6 separate regions of the Homo sapiens genome follow, and all the other regions are linked to region 1. Evidence: promoter capture Hi-C in 16 types of primary human blood cells and fetal thymus (Javierre and others, 2016). All regions are on one chromosome and are shown on one strand. The core of a region is centred on a gene start or on the middle of the fragment in contact, and the rest is flanking DNA. Distances in the headings are between cores, read along the strand shown.

Region 1 (3,011 bases), core at 231-2,730:
CCAGTGGCAGTAAACTGAGGGTTAATGGAGTTGGTCTGGTTAACTTGGAAAACGAGGGAGTTGTTGGCTGGAGAAGGGTGTTTCAGCCTCTTCCACTCAAGCCAGGATGGGTACCCAGACTAGAGCAAGCATGTGTTAGCTACCTTTAAAAAACAACAACACACCTTCATAAAGAATGCCTAGATTCAAAACATTTGTTTCGTTTTCATTTATTTGTTCCTTTATTGTCCCAGTGAATATTTACTACTTACTTCAAATTGCAACGAGATGCTGACAATTTAGCTATGAACAAAGCAGATGTAGTTCCTGCCCTTATTCAACTTCAAGAAACAGGCAATGAACGACAAGTCAGTGTCACAAGGAATACCAAGGGGAAAATGCAGGGCACTAAGAAAGTGTAAAGCAGACACTCAGGGGCTTTAGGGGTAGATAAGTCTTTCTGGAAGAATTCATCTGTACAGTGAAACTTCAGTATACATAGGAGTAAGTTCGGCCAAGGGAAAGAGTGTTCTTGACAGAACAGCATTGGCAAAAGTGGCAAGAATTTTAAGAAAATTAAAGAAAATGTACAAGTGATGGAACCAGGAATCATGGGGCTCTTTAAGGACAAAATATCTTAAAGGAGTTTGAAATTCACCTTAAATGCAATAGGGAGCCATTGTAAAGTTTCCTATTTGATACTTGTTTTGTAAAAATATTAATCTATGAAGAATATAGGGAGTGGAGTCTGCGGTCAGAGTGGGTACTAGTGCAATTTAGGGAATGAGATTAGGCTGGAAGCTGGATTGGGGGGAAAAAGATGGGCATGAGAGAAACTTGGAAAGCAGAGTTGAGAAGATCGTGTGACCGACTGGACGGGCAAAGGTTAAGAGAGGATAAATAATCATTAAGGACGATTTCTCAGGCTTCTAGTCGGTAACTGGATGGATGTTGGTGCCATTTCTCGAGAAGAGTTAAAGAGCCAGAGATAGCCGGCAAAGAGAAACATGGAGCTAGAATTTTCAGGTATCTGCAGTTTCCCTAATACCTTTTTAATCCAGAATTTGCTCCTTGTTTTGGTTTTAATTCCTCTAAAAGCTGCTTCCGTGTTGCAAGCTGGCTGACCGCTTTAACAGGCAACCAAAGAGATTCTTCTCACAAGAGGGAGGCTTTGAGCACAACCCGGGACATTTGAAGCTGTCAGACTGAAGAAACAGGAAGCTTTGAACTACCTATCACACTCGGCCTTAAAGGTTTCGGAGTAACTCCACCCGTAAAATCCCCACGACTCTGATTAGAAAGTCCCGGCGGGTCGCCGAGACCCGACCGCAGGCTCCGCCCCAGGGCCAGGTGGATGCCCGGATGTGGACTTGAGCGAATGTGCGTCACGTGACGTCGCCTGGCGGGGCGGGACTCTGCCTGCGACGGTGGTGTTGGGTGCATCCTGCGCCACGTGACCGCCTCCCAGCCAACCAATGGAGGAGCGAGGCGGAAAATTTCGAATGTGGCGGCGGTAGTTCCAGGCGACGGCGGACGGTGGTACGGTCCTGGAGGGCCCAGTGCGCGGGGCTAGCCGTGGCTGGAGAGCTTCGAAGAGCCTTGAAATGTGAGGAGGAGGAAGATAGCTGTTGCAGAAGTAGTGGCCAAGGTATCGTTCTGGACGCGCCTGCGGCAGGAGGGTCGCCGCGTCCACTTCCGCCAGCCCCACCTCCCCCCGGCCTTCCTGGAGTCCCTGAAAGAGGAAGAAGTAGGTTTTAAGGTGCGAAACAAGGGCGTAGTGATCCCTGTTTGACTTCCCTTCGGTTTTCAGTATCATTCTAAATTCGGTGGCCGAAAGCTCGGGCCGTGGAGTCCCACTCGCCGCGCTTTTCGCCGTTCAGCCACTCGATCTGCGCTTTCAGATGTTCCGGCTTCCATGGAGACCCTAATTTCCTACTTTGCAAAATTGTGTAGATTAAGTGATGTGCAAATAAAGCTTTTACAATAGCTAAAAGCCTGGCTCAACGTAAGGACACAAGAAAATTGACAGCAGTTCTTTGTGCAGCGTGATACCGTTGACGTCCTCCTTGTCCAGGCCATTCTCTTCCTCACTTACCCTGGAGAGGCCGGCACTGACTAGTATCCTACCTGGCTGTCTTCGCAGCAGGACTAATTGGAGAATTATGGACGGAGATCAAATATGCTAGGTTCTTTAAATCCAGAGCGCTTACACGAGTACTGTACAGATTGAGACCGTCATCTCGCGCTGTGGTCTGTCTTTGCTTTCATCCCTTCTGTCTACCACACCCCCTGCTAATAACCATCGCCTTATTTAGACAGGATATAAAACTTTTGATATGGCAAGTTTCTTTTGTGATTTTTAACTTGATTAAAAGTAATAACGAAAGCTTTTTAGGTAAGGCTTTGCCTTTAAAATACCTTAACTAAACTAGATCCGTTACTTAATCTGTATGACTCTCAAACATCTCCAATTCTAACTTAATTGTGTAAAACAACCCCTTTACCGTTCGTGCTTTTAAAAATAGCTACCCTATCTCTGCTAGGAACCTCCCAGTACATATTGTATATACCTTGGTAGAAAGAAAGTTCTTAAGTGGTATCTACAATACCTATATTTAAGATTCCAGACACTGCATAGAGGAAAATAAGGCCTGGAGGAAATACTCAAGATTAAGTGTAAGGTTTAGGAAAATATTTGACTATCGTAGAGGAGATGAAGATATCCTTTGTAGTGAAAATTCTGTGCATAGATTGTTATTGGAAACAAGTCTTTTTTTTTTGCAATTTTAAGATCTGCAAAGTGCAATCTAGCGTAAAAGATGTTTGTGAAAAGTGGTTTGACATGTTTAGTAGCATGCTAAAGCCTACCTGATTTGCAACGTTGAAAGATTAAGTATAGTTATGTATTTAATACTCAACGTTTAACTGTATGTACAACAATATTTAATGTCTGATTTGTTATGTTCATAATTTACTGGGAGTTAACAGCCCTAACTTTTAGCCACAGTTTGAGAATACTAGAGTGTTCCTCT
Region 2 (3,011 bases), core at 267-2,766, 1.9 Mb before region 1:
CACCTTGGGTAACAGAGTGAGACCATGAAAAAAGAGATAGAGAAAGAATTTCCAGGAACATAGAAAGGAAAAAGGATAATATCTGGCAACCATGAGGCTGTGCCTTCAAGAAAACATTTTCCACTCAGCTGTGAGGAATGAAGTTAACTGACAACCTACAGCTGTACTCTTTTAAAGATCTGTGACAGCATTTGACACAAAATCACACATTTCCCAGTGTGGCCACCTCAGTAACCTACTGAGCATGTCTGGTATTCTCATGACTAGCCATCTTCTCCCAGCCCAGGGCTCCTCTCTGGGCAGTCTTTGAACCAAAGCTTCTCACTGGGATGGCTGAGATGTCCTCAAAACCACACCTTAGTTCCAGGCCCTTCATATTCACTTCTTCCTTCCACCTCTGCTTTCATGTGTGTCTGGCCTATGTCTTACTCTGATTGCCACCTTTCTTTTCTATTTCATGGGAGTTACCCTCAATCAATGTCTGGCATTTCTAAGTCTGTCTGTGTGTCTTTTTCTTGGAGGACTCATATGACACAAATGCCTTTATATATATATATATATATATATATCAACAATAAATGACAGAAGACAATGGTAAAATGCCTGCACATTTCTGAAAGAAAAAAAAGGGTACAACTTAAGAATAAAATACCTAGCCAAGTGTGCATTCAAGGATAAATACATGTATTGAGGAACTCACATAGCCATGAGAATTTTTGAAAAAAAAATGCTACTTGACAATGCAATATGAACAACCAAAAGATGAATAATATAATTGGTAGAAAGGAAAATTAGAATATTTGATGCCGGAAGACATTAAAGCAATGACACGTATTTTTAAACATGAAATAACTTAGAGAATTCAACAGCAATAGCCTTTTATTAAAAATATTGACAATAAAATCCAGTCAACCCACTTATTAAAATTTGTAAAGCGTTAAATTGGTATTATTTTAGAAATCAAGGTGCTAGTTTCCCTGGAATACGGATGGAACCAAGTGGGTGGGGAGCTGTTTGGAGTGCTAGTAATGTTCTGTGTGGATATATTGATGTCTTCATTTATAAAGTGTTAGCGAGCTTAACGTTTACTGTATGTGTACTTTTCTGCACATATAGTAAATCTTAGTACAAAACTTGCTTGGAATCCCTATTAATATGGAACTAATGCTAAACAACTGTGGGAATTATAGACCATAATAATTATATGATTGTAAATGTTATTAATCCCTGAAAAAATAAAAATAATAAAAGTAGTAACATGAGTAGCAGAAATAAAAATTAGGAAAAAGGGTGAGTGGGAAGACAGAGGTGAGTGATCACAATCTTTCTTATTTTTTATAGTAGGTTGTCAACTCGTATAATGAATGAGGATAAAATGTGTAATTTAAACCACATAATCCTCGAACCTCTAGTAGTTTTCAAACTGTTTTTTGCTTATAAATAAATAGACCTTTAATATTATCCTTTGTGAAAGATAAATTTTGTTCAGCCATTCTGTTTACTTTGATTTCCTTTAACTTTTTTAAATTAAGTAAAATAAATTTAATGTTTTACTTAAATTGCACTTTTATTAAATTATAACTATATTTTATATGTATTTAATAATATTTTATTTGTATCCATATGTAGTTAAATGTCTAGGTCAATGCGCATATATTAAAAGCCTATACCTTCTAAAAGTTTTAGATGTTGGGTTTACTTTTTTCTAAAAAATGTTTTATTTCTATAAAAATAGTAAAGTCAGTAGTCTTAAAACTAAGTGATTTAGACACAATTAACAACTTTTTTTTTCCTCAGGGTGTTTTTCTAACTCTTTATTAAATGCAATAAATTGTTTCATTTGGCACCAACACTTCACTTCTCCCACTATCCACACTCTTTGTCTTATGACTCTACGTTGTCCCACTTTAGGGTGTGGGAGCTATGACCTTCCTGCTCCTGGATGCTGGGCTCAGCTAAGTTTTGATAAGTTTATTTGCGTTAATTTTATTTAAATAACATTCAAAATATTATATCTAATTTGCTTTAGTAATTTCAAGAATAGATGAGTTATAAATAATAGAGAACTAAAAAATTAATAATTCCTGGAAGACTAACAATCAGACCTTAATGTTAGTACTTTCTTTTTTTCTCAAACTAAAAATATCAAAACTGTAAGAGGTATATCAGTCAGGATCCAGAAGATAAACATCAGGTTAAGGTTACCAGACAGTAATCTTAATATCAAAAATTATTAACTGTAAGAGGGGATTTGCTAGCAAAGAATAAACAGAACTGTTAATAATAGAGTAATAGCAAATTATAGGGGCCACTACCCATAAGGCTGAATTGATACATAATAGAAGCAAGAGGGTCTGGAACCAGCTTCCACACACCATACCGATCCAGATTCATTGGAGAGGGCATAGCCATGAACATCTGCATGGCAGGGTTTGCTGAGGCTGCAAAGTACTCAGGAAGATATCAGTAGAAGCCATCCACAGATAGGTGTCATACAAGCAGCACTCTGTCATGAAGGCAACTGATGGGGTTTCAGAGTCAGCACTGTCTGGATACCTGGAGCTGGCCCTGCAAAAGCTGTGGATGTGGCTGGACAGGCTTTGTAGAAACAAGCTGTGTTGTAGGAGCCAACGTCAAGAAGCATAAAAGAACCTGGGAGAGAAACCCATTCATCCTTCAATTTCCCCCTTAGTAGCTTCTACTAACAAAGCTTAACATTATCCTGACTGGCAAAGAAGGAATGTTTACAGGTTCCAGCCCCACTGTCAGAAATAAAGCAGTAAATTGTGAACTTTCAACCAAGAGACAATAAAGTGATGACTAGGACAGTGCATGCCTTTGGTTACTCAGTTTCCATATTCACTCTTCTATTCAATCTTGAACTTTTATTCAAAAGTGAAACAACTCTGTATTTCCACCTAATAAGTTATAAATGTTCTTCCTGAAAGTGAAGGTATTTTTCATCCTTTTCCAAAATGAGGTGACACAGTCCCAACAGTCATTGTATCCAT
Region 3 (3,011 bases), core at 187-2,686, 1.8 Mb after region 1:
AATCTACTCTTAAAGGGCTGCTTTTGTGGTCACCATGTAAATGTGTTATAGTCATCCCCTCAGTACCCAAACCCGTTTTAAGGCCATTCCATGATACAGTATAATTAAAATGTTGGTCCAACTAGATTTTTACCAGATTTTTAATGTTTTCTTTTAATTTGAGTTTTAATTCTGAATATTAGTCTTAGCCATTTGAACTTGAACTGTAGGATGCTGCTGTAAACATTTCTGCAGTGGAGAGATCTCAAAGTGTATTTCTGCTATATTCTGAGTAGCAGATATTCTCAAAATGTGTTTCTAATGTGAGGCTTATGAAGATTATTGGGTACCTTTGAAGGGAATCTTGTCAGCTTTGTGCTTCTGTTTCATAGAAACTCCATGCATTTCAGATTTGCTAAGTTACGTTCCAACACTTTTACTTTGATATTTGCTAGAAATTTTAGGAATGAAGCAAATGAATTGTTTATAATTAATAGCTTTCTATATATTCTAAAATAAGCTATAGCCACAGGTTACATATTCTCTGTATTGTTAAGTGTCCATTTCTTGCAATTCAGAGAAAACTCTTATTTGTCATTTCAGTTATACCTACAGCTAATCTCCTGTCTTCCCTCTCTCACCCTTGGAATAGAGAGGATATGAATTTATAACCATCAAATAAAAATAATTTAAATTAATCACAAATGAATAGGATGATAGAATAAAAGGGTGACTCTTACTTCAGGGACTTTGTTTCGCAGACAACTCCAGATAACATGTTACATGGTTGCTAACATATGAAAATTTGAAATGATCTAGAAATAAACTTTTTAAAAACTCAGTTAAAATATGATGTAAACACCCAGTACTGGAATCGCATGTGTCTTTATGTTACTAAATGTCCCATTGATCTTGGAAGTATATTCAGACAAATACTTAAGGCATTTACTATGAGCTGAAGAAGAGGCTGTCGTTACAAATATTTATTGATACAGTCAGTGAGAACTAATTGTTAAATGACATCAACATTCAGCCAATAAACTCTACCTCACTATAACTTATAAATAGAATTGTGAATTTACTTAATGTTATCATGGAAAATGAATTGCATACAATTATAACATTAAGTAGAATGACAAAATGTAATTCAGGACTTGGTTTTGGAGTCATACATTGGTGAATTTCTATAGAGAGAGGTTTTCAGATATATGGCTTCCTGTGGCTGGATACCTCACTGTAATCATTAAGTGATGGAACTAGGCTACAATATCAACATCAGTTATAATTGCAGTATTCTTTTCCATAAAAAAACTTCTAAAAATTATGCATAGTTTAGGAGTGAAAGCAAATATTTGAAATTAATATTTAATAATATGAAAACATGTAAATTGTTCTCTAAATGAGGTACTTATTTTATATTTTGCTGAATCATCTTCTCTTTTTCTATGAATCTGATACTCCAGTCAGAATTTTTTCAACATAAACTGTTTTCTGTTTGCTTCTTTATTATGTTTTTCTGTCTAGAGTTATTAAAATGAGAGATGCAAGTTCCCTAAAGCCTATGTCCAAAATATATGCCAAGTTTGACAAAACTACTCTTTTTCCTATGGTTAAGATTTGGTGATGAAGATGTCATGGTGAAAAAAGCCTAGCAAATAAATATGGCCTCAGTCTTGAGCAAAATGGGACCTAACACCAAGAAATGCCAAGTGTTAAGCCCTTTCTTCCCCTGTGGAGTGTTGATTCATTCATGGGAGAGAACCTTTAGCATGCAATACACCATACACATTTTACTGTACAGTAAGGGTTTTATTTTGTTGAATATGATAAAGTACTCCAGTAGCAAGTATGGCTACAGGGGCCCTAAATATTATAGTTAGTAGAAAGTTCACCCTGTGGGCAGGTAAATTCCTTTTATAGAGCAGGGGCCAGGAGGAGTGGAACTGGGGAGCCACCAGGATTTTGCCTGGGGTGTTGAATAAGCCCTGCCTCCAATGCTCTTAGGACGATTGTCTAATACTTGCTAAGCAAATGTCCATTTGGACTTGGATTCTTAGAACCAGAAGGGATTATCCTTCCTAGGCTCCTCCTTTTGATAATTGAAGGAGCCAGTGTCCCTGGAGATTAAAGTCACGGTGCAATGACTAACAAGAAAGTCCTGACTTGCTAAGCCTATGTCCTTGCCTGACAATAAATTTTAAAGTGCTGATTTAGCTACTTGGGAGGCTGAGGCAGGAGAATTGCTTGAACCCAGGAGGCGGAGGTTGCAGTTAGCCGAGATAGCACCACTGCACTCTAGTTTGGTGACAGAACGAGACTCCGTTTCAAAAAAAAAAAGGAATACTTACATTTGGGTACAATAATGTTTTCTTTGATGATATTCATAAGGTTTTCTTCAGCTGCAGAAATTCCATAAGTGGGCTTAGTTTGATTTACAACTCATACCTTTATTTCTGTTATCACTTTCCTATCATAAATCTGCCCAAATCGATTGACACTAATTTATTAAATTCTTTGTACCATGTGTTTTTTTATTTTTGTAAAATGTTCTAAGACATAAGAAACACTTAGCTCATTATAGGTCTGAGGTTAGATGTTTTGTTGTTACTTTTGTTTTTTTCGGTGGATGTGGTTAGATAAGTTGGATGGTGCATTCTGAACTGCAGCTAAGGAGAGAATAAACACTGATTTGGGGACAAGAGAGCCTGTAGTCATGAAACTTTTGAGGATATGGATTTGGGAGGAAAATTGGGAATTTAAAAAGTAAACATTTTTATTTATAATAAAACATTAACATTTTGATGCTTATTTTCCCTGGAGTTTTAGAAATTGCATTTAAAAACTAGATAAATGTATATACATTCTGATACAGGGTAGATTCATTTTGTTAAGTAAAGGTCAGCTATTACTTCTACCAGCGTAATGTCTTCCTTCTAAAAATGTTTAGGTCAAATATTTCATGGAGGTTTTAATCTGATTTGCGCATTTTTACCTTCCCTCTTTCACCACACATGTGGGCGTACATACTCGCG
Region 4 (3,011 bases), core at 207-2,706, 1.7 Mb after region 1:
AAACATTAGCATTCAAGCTTACATTTTTGACAAATGTGCAGACAGGAATAGCATGAATAGGCATCTTAAATATTAACAACCTAAGCATCTGTTGTGAAACAAATTTAATATATTTACTCTGTTTTTCTCACATTGTTAGAAAAGGTTATAATAAGTGCATAATTTCAACTTTAGTTAGCAGAAGTAACTGGCTGTATCTTTCACTACCTCTCCAAGTGTTTATTACACAATCATCAGACATAAATACTTTAATTAACTTGGTTAAGCACATTATTAAATACACTGTAGACAATGTGTATACTATATAAAATGTAACAGTAGCAAACTATGTATTCTATTTGTACACGTTTTAAATGACTATGCATTTTATAAATATACCAAATATGTTTATTCTTCATCTTCATTTGACACTTACTACTTCATAGTTTTTTCTAATGAAAACAATATTTTAAATGTAGAGTTGTTCAGTCATAGGTAATACATAATATTTAAACAGTAGCTATAAAATACAAGGCATTGTCAAATTTGGATAATGCTACATCTAACATTATACAAGAGAAATAAAATTACAATTCAATTTTGTATTTATTTCTGAATAATGAATATAAATAATATATGAAAAAATAACGAATAGGGATTTCCCTCCTAAAGTACTACCTCCTTAAAATTTGGTGGGAGGGCAGGATGGGGGGCGGGGGGAAGATAGAGAAAGAAGACCTAAATAACTTCCAAAAGTCTGAATAGTTATTTCCAGAATCAATGCATTCCTCACTTTCCCACAAGCTGAAATATGTAATAAATAATAGTTCTTTGTATGTAAAAGTATTCAAAAGGAATGTTTTTTGTTCAGATTTGTAAGAAATTAATATATTCTTTGGTTGATAATCTACAAAAGTAGTTCTTTTGTCTCCCAGCATCTTAAGAACGACAACAAAATGAATATTGGTTTATTTCTGCAAAGAAATCTGTTGCCAGCTATATGAACCTGTGATTAAATAAGACATGATATGCTGAGTGATGGTAAAGAAATACTACATTAACTTAGTAAAGACTAAAATATCTGGAGGAGAATTTTTAGTTCTTTTTCATATGACAGGTTGTGGATTGTAAATTAGGCCTAAAAGGTCAGGTGACAGGCACCTGTTCCTCATTATTGTAAAAATATTTTGGTTACAAACACTGTTAAGCTAAACACAACATGGATATACAGCAGGGACTCTATAAAGCACTCTAGTGGGTTTTCATCTGTTCTGTAAATTTCCAAAAGGGCTATACATAGATATGCCCTTTACACACATAGTTTCTTCCATACATATTGTCTTGGATGGCTGTAATTAATATATTAGCACTTGGAATTGATGAAGTATTTAAAATAAATGCATATGACTAAAGCAATCTTCAGACTATTTCTAGACATGATGTAGTTGAATGCAAAAATGTTTTTAATCTCTTTTCCCTTTTCAATATATTGATTATCAGAATTTTGTTCATGTTATAAATAGAAACCTCCCCAGATTGCCTTTTACACTTTTTAGATAAGATGGGTTCTTATTTTAAATGCTGCCACGAAATATTTTGCTCAGTACTCATATATAAAAAGAAAATTAGTTGCTATATACTGTCATAGCTTTGTGGCATACATAAAATAGAAAAAACACGTTTTACATGAATGCTGTTAGGAAGGATATCATCATTTGATCTTCAAACTTGCCGCTTCTCTCAGGAGAGTTCAGCAATATTTCTATTGGAATTAAGGAATGGGGTTTGATTTTTATGAATGGTTTACCTTCAGATATTTCAGAGAGCAGAATAAGCATACATATTGAAAAGACCAAAGTGGCACAAGGCTGCAAAATATTAAAGGTGCCAGGTGCTTTTAATTAACAAATGAGGACTATCTCGAGTAAATCAGATAACTTGGATTAAGTTCTATGATATTTCAAAATGTTTTTCGTCTTTTTCAGTTTTGTGTGGTTTGTGCTTATTATATTAAGTATTCATTTTTAGCATTTGTGATCAGATTACAGAACAGTCATTACTCTTGCTTTTCAAATTGATTTGGTTTTCAAACTCCAAAACTCTGTGATGATTTTTACAAATTGGTTTACATTTTGACAGAACAGAGTTAAGTTAATTAATAGATCAGGCACGAAAAATCATCCACAGTAGGGTATATTTTCTGGTAAAATGAAAGTTATGTTTCAGCATGATGAGCATCAGGCTTCAGTAATCTGTTCCTCGTGTGGAATGAACACTTCCTACTTCGAGCTAGCAGGCACCTACTGTTTATTTACGCTGCATTAAACTGACAGTGCAGCAATCAGAGGAAAAATATTACTTACCTTCCTGAAGTAAATACCAGTTTATAGTTTAGTGCACGTATTTATATTCCTGTCACCACTAAATAACGGCTCTGTCTCCATTTTAATATCTACCTGTGCTATAATCCAGGGCTTCAGACTCTTCCTGGTTGGGGATAGGGGTCGAGAGGAGTTTTTCTTATCATTTCCCTATGGCAAAACTTTAAAGACAAGTAATTTCATCTTTTCATTTCTGTCATGTGAGAACCAGTTGAAAGAAATGTTATGCACTTTTACTTTGCATACCTCAACTATAACATCAAAACCCCAAAAGAATCTGCATGCCACTTAAAATAGTCATCTTAAAGCAACCTCAGGATAAATATGTTCAAACACATTCAAATGTGTTTTGCTAAATTAACTTTCTACAAAGTTCCAAAAAGATTAAACTATTTGATTCCTCAGATAATAACTTCAATAAAGTGTCTCCTCTTCCAAGTCTTAGATGGAATGTTTAAGTTTTTAATGGAGTTCTGAAAATATGAATATAAAGTGGGGCTCATTGATTGATTTATTGATTGACTCGCTAAGCTTTTCTCTGAAAATATTCTTAACTCCTTCATTTGACTTCTTGTTAATCTGCCATCCTTAAAATAAGGGAGATTTCTACTTTGTTGTAATACTAAATGTATTTGTTGTTTTTCTTTTATG
Region 5 (3,011 bases), core at 229-2,728, 1.4 Mb after region 1:
GTAGAAACCACCTGGGCAATCTGCACATTTCTGTTGCAGTCTGTAGTTTCTGGTCTGTTCACATGATCCCAAGTTGTCCTAGTCCTACTGTTGTTACATTTAGTGCCAATCTGTGGTAGGTTAAATATCAATGGATATGTTTTTATATCCCAGGGTTACCTGAAACATTCAGAAGAGCAACAGATTCCAGGAATCTTCTGAGTAGCAAATGCCAATTTCACCATCCCACTCTGGAAAAAATGGGCTAAGAGGAGTGAGAACTCCCCGGAGCCTACATTCTGCCTCTGTACTTCCCAAGATGGATCTTCCTGGCTGCTCTTTGCCTCCCACCCAAGAATCACCCTCCACCTCCATCCATGCCCCACTGTTCTCCATTTGAGAACAGGCAATGGAATGAGAATGGAAGCCAATCACCAGTGGTGCTACATTTGAATTTTCTTTATGACCAGGGCTGTTACTATAGTGTTGTACTAACTACATTTTCTCAGCAATTTTTAAGTTTTGTTATATATATTTAGGGTCATATTTGTTGCTGGAATTCTCAGTCCTTATAAACCTGAAAACCATCCAGCCTCAAAACCATAATACCTTTCATTAGAACAATTATTATATCACAATTTTTGATAATGCATAGAAATTGGATTATTGATAATGCAACATTTCTTGGGATTAAAATTATGACTTGTATTAGAGTATTACATAACATGGTTTAATGTTGCTATGGTACAAAGTGTGTGTGTGGCAGTGAGGATTTGGGGATGGGAAAGGAGTTCAGAACAGTAAGAATATTCTAGGCATAGGGAAATATTACACTTCACTGTATTTCTTTGCTTACTTGGCTCTTTTCTTTGTAAGATTATAAGCTTGTTGGTGGTGGGACATCATACCATTTAATTTTTTTTTTATTCCTTGAGTGTAGTTGAGTGTTTCACACATAGTGTACTCTCAGAAAAATGGTTAAAGGAATACATTATGACAAAACAGAACATACAACAATGTGTAAGGGAGTGGAATGCAAACAGCTGTCCGAGAAGAGAATATGAGTGATAGAGAAGCTCCATTTACTCACCAGTTGCTTGGGGTTTGTGTCTTATGATGTTTATTGTTTTATTTCTCTCAAAAAATTAACTCCAAGGGCAATATCCTCAGGATGATCAGTTTTATCCTGCTCGGGTTGGATATTTTTCTAAAAAAGAAGAGAGAATTGTATCAGTAGACAGCCAAAGTCTTGCCTGAAAACGAAGGTTAATGCCTAGCCAGTCATATTATGGTTCATGCACCAGCAACATGGCCACAACCTGGGAGCTTATTAGAAATGCAGACTGTCGGGCCCATCCAAGACCTCCAGAATCAAAATCTGCATTCGTATAAGATCTTTAGGTCATTCACGTGTGCTGCATTAAATTCCGAGAAGTGGTCATTTAAGGACACTGTTGGGACATTAGGTATGACATATAGCATCATGATGAGGTCAGAGAAGGCTGTGGTTTCCAGTCTGGCTGAACGGAAGAAGGATGGTTACATTAACTAAGATACGGAAGGGAAGATGAGGAACTTTTTTGAAGTGGGATGAGAGAGAAGCAGAAAGATATTAGGGATTGGAAAAGAGGAACTATGTTGCTCACACTTTTTGCCAATCAAATCAATAACAATGAAATGTAGTTCACTTCCAATATCAAGAGTTTGCAAATGTCTAGAGAAACTGCAAGAGGGGAAAAACGAAGAAAATATTTTAGGTTGAATTACATGTAAAAGGCAATCTCTTCTTGTTTAAAGATATTTGAACTGCTAAAAGCCCAGAGAGGAAGTAATTGTTACACCTTCCCTCCACACTGTGTGGCTAGGTCATTTCTCTGAGCTGAGTTCCATCAGCCAACTCTCTCTTTTTCATTCTTGTTCTTCGCACACTTAATACCTTGAAAAACAATCCTTTTAATATCCTCTAAAACCCATTTTGGATACCTACACTGTGTAAAATGAGTGTAAAAAGCCTCTTAACACAATTGTTTTCAAATGACACTGTCAATGTATTTTTCCTCATTTTTGTAATCATTATTACTGACTGTTGCTTATAATAACCCCACACAAGCTTAGAACAGAAATCTGTTTTCTTACGGATTTTTACAAGACTTTAACCTTCATAGTATGCCACTGCTACTCTTTTTATTTTTTATGGTTTTGTCAGATTCTGGAGAAACATCACAGCATTAATTTTTTAAAAATAAAACAGCCCGGAGTCATTTACATGAACTTTGCAAAAATATGCATATGATAGGAGTATAGATTATCTGTTGGGGGTAAGGAGACAAGGAGAGAAGCAAACACTACTTAGTGTAATGCACCTTTTATCATCAGATCTCAAAGTGCTCCACAAATATTAATATATCACATTACTTCCCTGGGAAACAAGTCAATATGATTAAACGCATTTCACAGATGAGAAAACTGAAAGCACAGATTGGCAAAGTGATCTGCCTAAAGCCATATCAAAGGTCACAGTGGAGTGGGGCCAGAACTTAGTGTCCTGATACTGGTAATTCATATCACTAGTCATTAGTTACTTGGCTCTTACTTTTGTTTCTAAAGGGGGGAAAAAGCTTCTAGTCCATCAACCCAGCATTGAGTGTTTGTTGCAAGGTGTGGTTTTTTTCCTTGCTCTTCCCACAGCCCCAACTCTCTATCATTTTCTGCTAACCAGACTCTTTAGCCCCAATCACTTGCTGCCTCTTCCCCTCAAAATGGAGTGGAATAAATGTAGTTTCACTTGAGAGAAAGTAAAATAATTATTATGGCTGTGTGAGTGTGAGTGTGTGTCTGTGTGTGCGTTTATGAGAGAGGGAAAGAGAGTATGTGTGTATTCATTCAATATCTAAAAGGATAGTTGACATTTCTAAATTTTTCAGGTAAGAAGGCCAATTTTAGAATTATTGTTATTTGGGCTAAATATCATTACGAAGACAGAAATGCTGTTCTAAATTTTATTAAAGGCAAAGGACAAACCCCAAATGAAT
Region 6 (3,011 bases), core at 221-2,720, 1.0 Mb after region 1:
TCAGGACATTTCTGCTATTTCTCATTAGCTAACACTGTGTAATAAAGATGTCTTTAGCTACAAAAAGAATGTGGAAGTGATTAATTACCCAGGATTTATAAAAGAAAGAAGCAAGGTCTAACAGTTTAAGAATGCGTGTGGGTCAACCAACCTACCTAGATCTTCTGCCACATATTTCAAAGGCAGTTAGAAACAAGGTGTGACATGAACAAACGTCCATAATATGGATGACATGCAGGTTTTATATACACTTCAATCCTAAAAATTAATAGCAACTACTAGGCTTTCTGTATTGAAAATAATTCCTAGATGGCTCCCAGACTCATCAAGAGAGTTGAAGAACAATTAATAATGTCTACCATGGGCATGGTAGAAAATCTTAGGGATTCAGATCACTGCAGTAGACCTGGAGCTGTTAGCTCTGTAGCAGATTCCTAAGAGCCGTATTTGTCCCCATCTCTCCATTGCAGAGGAAAGTGAAGAAGTACTTACTTACCCTATGATTTAGTGCTATATCTCTCATTTTGATCACTTGTTAGTCAGGCTATGTTAGATTATTTTGTGGTAGCAAATTAATACCCTACCTCAAGTTTAAGTAAGTTAACCACCAAAATGTAATTATCACTTATAAAGCAATAGAGGGGGCTCTTCTTTACACAATTACTCAGGCACTCAGGCTGATGGACACTCATCCATGTTACAGTTGCACATCCAGAAACAGAGGCCTCCATCATGATCACTGAACAGAAAAGTCACCTGCTATCCTGTGATTCAACCCAGAAATTATACACATCACCTCTTCCTAAAGCTTACTGACCAGAATTACTCATATGCTTTTACTCACCTATGAGAAAGAGCACCCGGAAAGTACTCTGCCAAATCCCCTCTATAAAAATAAAAGATGATACCACCAACTCAGACTTTTCGTGATATTTAAATGACTGAATAATATAAAACACACAGAATAATGACCGAATTATAGTAATAACTCAATAAATGCAAGGTATTACTATTTTAGGTAATTCCGCATATATTCCCACCTTCAGAATTCAGGTCACTGCAACAGACCTTGGGCAATAGTTCAGTAGTAGATTCCAAGAGGTACATGGTTTCAACCAATAGTATTCTCAACTCTTATAAATTTTCACAGTGGTCAAGTTACATAAGGAGGAATACATTCCATATCTTACTGCCATTCAATGAATCTGAGCCTCTTTGGAAGAGTGGAAGGTGAAAAGTGGAGATAATACTGCTTATTTATTTATTAAATCTCACCATCTTTCTCTTGTTTTGAAAATTTCCTGCCACAGGAAACAACATGTCCCTCAGTGCCTATCCAATTTTCAATACTCTGTTCAGGCTTGTTACACAAACACTGGAATCCCAGTCTCATCAGACCTTAATGGTAAATACCTTCCATTTTTGCTCTCTCCTGTACCAGTGTATGTATACACTGTGTCCATCCTACTTTCTTTTCTTCCAGAAGATTAGGTGTTCTCTCCAAAAGTAATACACAGCCACCTGAAATTTTCATTGTCTGTTTCCAGAATCATGTTCCATTTGTCCTCCCCTTCTGTCCTATATCTTTGTTTCTGTCTCTTTTTCTCTCACTACTTGTTTGTTCTCTCAACCTATAAATATTCCAGCTATTCTAATCCTGAGACATATCCTTCCTTGATCTATCTGATCTTTCACATTTCTTTTACATGTAAATTTCCTGAAAATCCATCTAAAATTATTTTGATCTTGTTGCTTCTTCAACCATTCTAAAAAGATTTATCAAAGTCAATAATGACGTAATTTTCTAAAATAATGGACATTTTCAATCCATATATTCCTAATTTTTTGTTGTCTTTGACTCTGTCAATTCCTTCTTAAAACTTTCTAAATTTCTAAAATAGAAAACTTTATTGTTTTGAACAGAAAGAGTCTTTTCTGTTGAATGGTTGGGTTTCTTGAAAAAAGAAAAAAAAAACCCTCTTCCCTTAGCCTATCTTTATATTCTAGTCTCCCTCAAGACTCCATAAACTGGGCCACTAAACTCTACATTTCAGTTACTGTCATATTTTAAATATTTCCTTTCTGAGAACACTTTCCTAATCTTTTTCTGAAACCCAGGCCTCTAAGCTTCTGACAATACCTAATTGTGCTCTCGATATTACTCCTTAACTATTTATTTCACATAAACTTCTGTGTATACCACCAAGTAATCTATGTGAGATCCCAAGTAGTCCTTATTCTTATATCTAAGAGCCATATTTGGCTCCAGTCTATTGTCCAGACTGGAGTGCAGTGGTGAAATCATAGCTCCCTGTAACCTCTAACTCCTGAACTCAGGTGATCCTCCCACCTCAGCCTGCTAAGTAGCTAGGACTACAGGCATGCACCACACACCCAGCTATTAAAAAAAAATATATATATATATATATTGTAGAGACAGATCTTTGCTATATTGGTCTCAAACTCCTGCCCTGAAGTGATCCTCCTGCCTTGGCCTCCCAAATCACTGGGAGTACAAGTGTGAACCACCTTGCCTAGCCTCTAAGCCTTTCTTTACAATGTAGCTAGCATGATTTTAATAAAAGGCAAATCTGAGCATGTCACCCTTCATTTTGCCTCTGGGATTATGAGCCCATCTTATTTGCCATGGCTCATTTCTCACCATCCTCAAAATTTATACTCAAGGAAAACACAATTCCTAGAAGTTCCTAAAATACACAGTGCTCCTCTAGAGACTATGACTTTGATTATGATAACCTCACTTCATGAAAAGTGCTTCCCAGACCTTCTTTGCATGACTAACACACACATACCCACTTTCCACTTCAGCCTAATTTGAATGCCACTCAAAATAGAAGCATTTGCTTTCATAATAGATGTTGTATATCTTCTGACCTAGTTTTATCTGCGCAGTTTTAGGCAAGCCTTTTCTTAGTTTCATGGAGATTATAATAACACACATTTCACAGGGCAGCTGCGAGGGATAAATGAAATAATATAGAGAAAATGAT

What was found. The method cuts DNA at HindIII sites, captures the fragments that hold promoters and counts their contacts. A CHiCAGO score of 5 or more calls a contact.
Region 2: a contact is called between a fragment that was not itself captured here and the fragment with the promoter of SGO1 in region 1, in 1 of 17 cell types (M2 macrophages). The highest score is 5.6, in M2 macrophages.
Region 3: a fragment that was not itself captured here is called in contact with the fragment with the promoter of SGO1 in region 1 in 1 of 17 cell types (activated CD4 T cells); the score reaches 5.8 in activated CD4 T cells.
Region 4: a contact is called between a fragment that was not itself captured here and the fragment with the promoter of SGO1 in region 1, in 1 of 17 cell types (monocytes). The highest score is 6.2, in monocytes.
Region 5: a fragment that was not itself captured here is called in contact with the fragment with the promoter of SGO1 in region 1 in 1 of 17 cell types (monocytes); the score reaches 7.4 in monocytes.
Region 6: a contact is called between a fragment that was not itself captured here and the fragment with the promoter of SGO1 in region 1, in 1 of 17 cell types (fetal thymus). The highest score is 5.2, in fetal thymus.

Annotation. Positions count from the first base shown.
Region 1 is chr3:20,184,675-20,187,685 of GRCh38, reverse strand. SGO1 (shugoshin 1) reads left to right here and starts at 1,480. Exons shown (of 8, transcript NM_001199251.3): 1 at 1,480-1,738. It overlaps SGO1-AS1 (SGO1 antisense RNA 1), which reads right to left. Exons shown (of 4, transcript NR_132785.1): 4 at 1,571-1,711. RefSeq lists enhancers at 1,003-1,062, 1,083-1,762. The HindIII fragment of the contact is 754 bases long and covers 1,203-1,956 here.
Region 2 is chr3:22,091,944-22,094,954 of GRCh38, reverse strand. It overlaps a transcript of ZNF385D not described here. Among named protein-coding and RNA genes, the nearest start is that of ZNF385D-AS2, 140 kb to the right of the region's middle. The HindIII fragment of the contact is 2,393 bases long and covers 320-2,712 here.
Region 3 is chr3:18,411,285-18,414,295 of GRCh38, reverse strand. The region is part of intron 5 of SATB1 (SATB homeobox 1); the gene reads left to right. Among named protein-coding and RNA genes, the nearest start is that of SATB1, 13 kb to the left of the region's middle. The HindIII fragment of the contact is 3,784 bases long and covers 1-3,011 here.
Region 4 is chr3:18,439,857-18,442,867 of GRCh38, reverse strand. It overlaps a transcript of SATB1 not described here. Among named protein-coding and RNA genes, the nearest start is that of SATB1-AS1, 3.9 kb to the left of the region's middle. The HindIII fragment of the contact is 2,874 bases long and covers 20-2,893 here.
Region 5 is chr3:18,744,129-18,747,139 of GRCh38, reverse strand. No RefSeq gene overlaps it. Among named protein-coding and RNA genes, the nearest start is that of SATB1-AS1, 300 kb to the right of the region's middle. The HindIII fragment of the contact is 1,226 bases long and covers 866-2,091 here.
Region 6 is chr3:19,138,827-19,141,837 of GRCh38, reverse strand. No RefSeq gene overlaps it. Among named protein-coding and RNA genes, the nearest start is that of KCNH8, 8.2 kb to the left of the region's middle. The HindIII fragment of the contact is 1,319 bases long and covers 811-2,129 here.